Regions from separate parts of the Homo sapiens genome. Here region 1 is linked to region 2. The links are contacts of gene promoters, found by promoter capture Hi-C in blood cells and fetal thymus (Javierre and others, 2016). All regions are on one chromosome and are shown on one strand. Each heading gives the region's core, a stretch centred on a gene start or on the middle of the fragment in contact. The rest is flanking DNA. Distances are from core to core; before and after follow the strand shown. Region 1 holds the start of MMAA (metabolism of cobalamin associated A). Region 2 holds the start of ELMOD2 (ELMO domain containing 2).

Region 1 (2,700 bases), core at 38-2,537, 5.1 Mb before region 2:
AATTGGTTGCAAGTAACATTAAAAATCAAGAAAAAATACGTAAAAATACAGATCTTTGGCCTGTGTTGGAGAAAATCGGATCTGCGTTTGAGAGACCCCCATTCCCACATGGCAACAATCAGCTAAATGGTAAATGTTTCGAGCATTCACCAGCTCTTTCCATTCTAAATAAAGGTTTTCTTTTGACATCTTCAAATATCTCAAATGGTGATTTACATTTCTTATGGATATGTAACTTTTCATGCTTGTTTTGTCTCTCCTAATAGAATACAGCCCTTAAAAAACCTGTCCTTGTCTTTGACTTTTTAAAAACCTCTTGTTACCCTGAACACAAACCGGTATTTAGTGCAAAATTATTGTAAAAGAATATTCTGAACATTGTAGACAACAGCAAAATGCTGAATAATCCACACAGTTTTTCTGGAAACTTTTGGCTTTCTACCAAGTTGGAAAAGTTTTATTAGTTTATGTTTTCTAAACATATGGATTAGGGTACAACTCTTAAGACAGATAATAAAAAATTTTTATATTATTTTGGTTTAGGTCGTCTTTCATTTTCTAATGAGAAATACATATGAAGACAGCATGCCCTCTGCTGAAAGAGATTTAGACCCTGCCCGGCACGCCATGTGACGGAACCTAGATACTGTTTGTAACTTTTAGTTTGAATCCAACTTTTATATCCTGGATTTGATTTCCCAGAAAAGAGTTTCAATTTCACTCTTTGGTAGGAGTCATAGTGGCTTTCTCTGACGCGGCCTCAGGTTAACCATTTACCGGGTTTGGCAGCGACAAGGGAAGAGCCACCTTAACAAAGCTGCCTTGCTGTGGCTCAGAGATAACCTGAGAAACCTAACCAAGATGAGAATTTTAAAACACTGTTTACGTACAGGGCCTTTCTTTGTTAAAGCTTCCATTTGAACCCATTTGCCGACTCCTGCCTGTCCACACATATCCGCACCCCGAACATCAATATTAGGAGAATATTCGATAATACTCTCCTTTTCCTTCCCCCACCCCAAATCCTCCAGGGGGCGCCCCGGAGGACCGCGCTGGCCCCCCGGCGGGAGGGCGGCCGTAGGCGGGAGCCCAGTCCCGACTCCTGGACGCCGCGCGCACTCCCCATACTCACCCGCCCGAAGCCACGGAAGTGCCACCTGACCCCGCCCCTTCCGCCGGATCCTCCCACGCAGGCGCAGCGCCGACTGCAGGCGCGTGGGGCCCGGGGATCGCCTGGGGCTGGGTGGCGGTGCGGGGCATGGCCAGGGTCCCCGTGGACGTGGCCGCGCAGTTCCGGCGTGTGGCGGAGAGCGAGTGAGCGTGAAGGTCTCCCGGCCTGCAGCAGGCTGCGGAAGCTCTGCGCCGGGAAGTTCTCTGGCGGGGGAGGGGAGGGCGGTTTACGGCCTTTGGGGTAGGTTTTGCCCTTTTTAAGATCCACATGAAATCTTTCGCCTCCGAAGTTCGAGGGTAACTTTCGTTCCCTCCTGGCCTTCGCGACACCCTCGAGTCGGACGGAGGCCGAGTCGTGTCCTCACCCCCAGCAGCCTGCGGCGGCCGGGACCCCCGGAGGCCCTTCTTCCGCTCCTTGGAAACTTAAAATGTGGGGTGAGGGAGAGACGCGTTACGTTTGACAGACCGGTGAAATTAAAGACACTCAAGCTTCTCAGAGTGATTTGAAGAAATGCTCAGCGTTCTGCCGAAATATAGTTTTAAGTTTTTAAACCACGGCATGGTTTTTAAAGGCTGAAGGACCCACAGTTTTTTTCTCTTAAAGGGCACGCATTCATTTTGATTAATATTTCTTAACATGCAGCCAAAGCCAGGACTCGGGCTCACTGCTGCAGGGGTGTCCTCGGGAAGTCCCGAGGGGGGAAAGGCGCGCAAGCCTGAAATGGAGATGAAAATAAACAGGCATAATATTTGCTACCTCACTGCGTTGGGCGTAGTAGTAACTAATTCTTAAAAAACGTCTTAGATGACATATAAGTAGTAAAGCCGTTGTATGCTAATCTAGAATTTTTGAGAAAAACTTAATCACCCAAATGTTTGCTATAATGTGATGAAGATAGCATCCATCGGCAGTAGCCAGGATCAAATGACGAGTAGATATGGTTATAAATGGGGCCCATGCAGTATAATTAGTATATGAAACCAAGATGTCAGTCCTCACACAGAATTTGTGTAATGATATGCATTTGGGAGGCTTCAGGCCTTTTCAGCTATTTGATACAGGTTGATTCTTACTGAATACAGAATAATAAAAAATGAATTACTGGTCTCACCATTTTCATTATTACTATTTGGACCAAAAGACTACCACTTTTACTCCAAAGATTGATTGTAGACTCAATAGCCAATGACAGAAAATTAAGCACAAGTCTAAATGAAGCCGAGGATCTAGTAGAAAGAACACAGAATCAAACCTTTCAAATCTCAGCCTATCGAACACAAACAGATTGACAGTTCTTGAGACGGTTTACTTCCTTTCTTTAAACTTGGCGTTGCTCATCTGAACAATTGTTTCGGTAAGGGTTACGTTTGATGAAAGCTCAGTTTGTGCTACCTTAGAAGTGAAGAAGTTTGTTAATTTTAAAATTGAGTTTATCCTTACCTGCTTTTCGTTCTACAAACTCAAACACTTTCATGCATGTCACTTTTTTATTCAGAAGTTTTCTAAACAGTACAGCTTAGGGAACACAT
Region 2 (2,700 bases), core at 133-2,632:
CACCTACATAGGTATCAAATATTCGCTGCAATTCACACTTCCCAGTCATCTGTCGTAATAGCCATTTCATCCAAAATCGAAAAAAGTGCCCATAGAAGAACTCCCACAAAGAAATAAACATTTTTTTTTCCTGGAGGAGGGAAACATACAAGACAAGCTTAATGACCTTAAACTGAATTTTAAAATTTAAAAAGTTTATACAACTGATCAAATCTCAAATTATGTATCTATCATTTCATTGTGTCTGTTTTGACAGTTTAATTAGGCATTTAAAAACAATGGCAGGTGTAATATATACCGCTATTAATTGATGATCAAATGGCCAATTAATCACTTTTTCAAAACTAAAATTCAAACAATGTACTCAAACTATTCAATGGCTTGAAAGAGTAACAGAATGGTTTGCACTTTTTGCTAAATAATTGTATTTCATATCTTAGTTTCCTAACTTCCCATTCTTTGAGAACTGGGGCTCAACAGTTCAAGATCAAGAGGACTCCAACTAATCAACAATTAAAATATATACCAAAACATCAGAGTTGTTTTTATAGAATACACTCTTCTTATCCCATGTGGATAATTCGTTACAACTGTCCCAGTCAGGTGATGCCAGCAAATAAAAACACTACAAACTTAAGTATACAAGTTGAACACTGAGTATATAACACCTTAGCTCATTCTTGATTTTCCATTCAATAGGTCAAGGGCAGAAATACTAACAAGTTTTTGTTTTGCTAAGTACACACTCGATACAACTATATCTTATGCCATAAGAAAATTCTTCAGCTTCTAAATGAAAAAGTCAGGGAGATACTAGTGAGAGGGAGATACTTAAAAACAAAATTGCTCGTCTCCTTCCTGCCTTAAACATTCCCACAGACACGTCACCTCTGGACTAGGGCCTGAGGAGGGACTGTCGAAGTTCGAAGTACCCGCAGGTCAGTGCAGAAAGAGCGCATAGCACAGCTGGGTTGATCATTATCTTGAAAATCAAGCCATCTAGTCCGCGCTCATTAGGACAAAAGCGCAGAACTGCCGAGCAGAGGGGATGCACGCGTAGCGGCGCCTGAGCACCCCAGGGCTCTGGGCGTCTCTGCGCCGACCCCCCTCGCGCGCCGCCCGCGAATGGGAGGGCAGGGCTCGCACAAAGACCCGCCGGCCCAGGCGCCCCCGGGTTCCCGCAGAACCCCGCGGGGCTCGCGAGCCCGCGCGCTCTCAGTGCAGCCGCACCGAGGCATCCGGGGCAAGAGGAAAAGAAACAGCAGCCACCTCACAGGAGCGGAAGAACTAGGGGGAGCAGGAGCTGCCTCGGTTTCCCCACTGCAAACAGCCGGCAACGGAAACGACGGAACACTCCCTTCAAGCACCGCGACCCGGAAGTCAGGGAGCGAGGCCGCGGACCCGCCTTCCCAGGGCCACTGCCCGCCCCGCCCCTCCGGCCTCTTCCGATTGGCCCGCGCTCCACCTATTGCTAACGCTGGAGAGAGGTCGAGCTGAGTGGCCCAGGCGCGAGGGCTCAGATACTAGGGACGCCCAGACGGTTTCCCTGGCAACGGCGGCCAGGAGCCCCGCCCCGCGCCGGAGTAGCGCCTCCTAGCGCTGCGCTGGAGACTTTTCCCTCCTTGAACCTCAGGTCCTTAGCGCGGGTTGACACCTTGTACTATTCCTAGGCTCCAAGCGCGGAAGAAACCCTGTGCTTACGGTAACTTATAGTGCCTTAGTTACAAAAGCGCTTTCATCTGCATTGAATCTTAATTCTGTGAAGTAATTATGAATAACTCCACTTTATGCACGAGAAAAGGGAACCGGCTACTTGACTGTGGCCAATACGTGGCAGATGAGGAAAGTCCATGTGTTGAGAAACGAAGTTTGGACTTTATCCTATAATACTATAGGTCTAAAAGTTAATTTATCAAATGTTTATTCCCTAACTGGTTGTTTTTGTTGAAAAAGTAATTTCGTGATTACTTTTTAAAAACCTCAAGCAGTAAGTTTCTTAATTCAACAAGTATTTGTTGATTGTTAGCACAGGCAGTGTTCCAAAAGGCAGTCAAACACGAAACAAACAGCCAAATATTTAATATGTCAGATGCTACTAAATGTTAAGGGTATAGGGGTTGTTAGCTAAGGGGTAATGGGGAGTCTGTGGGGGAAGTCATTGCATACAGTGTGGTCAAGGAAGTCTCATTATTAACGTGGCATTTTGGCCTCATTGAACGAAGTAAGGGAGTTTACTGTGGGAGTATCTGGAGGGAGAGTGATCCAGGCACCAGAATGACAAGTGCAAAGACCTTGAATTGGGAGGGTTTTTGAAATGTTGGAGGAAGAGCAAGAAGGCCGGGGTGGCTGGAGGAGAAAGAGCAAGGGGGAGAGTAGAATATAAATACAAAGGACAACTGATACTGAAAACAAATTTCCCCATCCACCCAAAACTCCTGATACCTCCGTCACCTTGCTCAGAAGCAACCAGTATTACTTTCTTGTTTCTAATTCCAAAAATATTATATGCAAGTGTATATATGTATATTCCTTCCAACTCCTTGAATTGAAGCAAGTGATACATACTTTCCCACATCTCAACCAGCGTTTAAAAAATGGACTAATTGTAGAACACTAGCCATGTGCAGGGTGCATAAGCCGTCATCCCTGTCCCATACCAACAATGAACTTGGTAATGAAGTCTGGATAGACACTACAATA

The links. Contacts are between HindIII fragments. The CHiCAGO score rates a contact against its expected background, and 5 or more counts as called.
Region 1: a fragment that was not itself captured here is called in contact with the fragment with the promoter of ELMOD2 in region 2 in 1 of 17 cell types (non-activated CD4 T cells); the score reaches 7.5 in non-activated CD4 T cells.

What each region holds. Positions count from the first base shown.
Region 1 is chr4:145,617,840-145,620,539 of GRCh38, reverse strand. It overlaps MMAA (metabolism of cobalamin associated A), which reads right to left and starts at 1,155. Exons shown (of 7, transcript NM_172250.3): 1 at 1,133-1,155. RefSeq lists silencers at 787-856, 887-1,326. The HindIII fragment of the contact is 749 bases long and covers 913-1,661 here.
Region 2 is chr4:140,522,850-140,525,549 of GRCh38, reverse strand. It overlaps ELMOD2 (ELMO domain containing 2), which reads right to left and starts at 1,382. Exons shown (of 9, transcript NM_153702.4): 1 at 1,270-1,382; 2 at 1-130. The coding sequence starts at 121. RefSeq lists silencers at 1,021-1,140, 1,331-1,680. The HindIII fragment of the contact is 7,186 bases long and covers 160-2,700 here.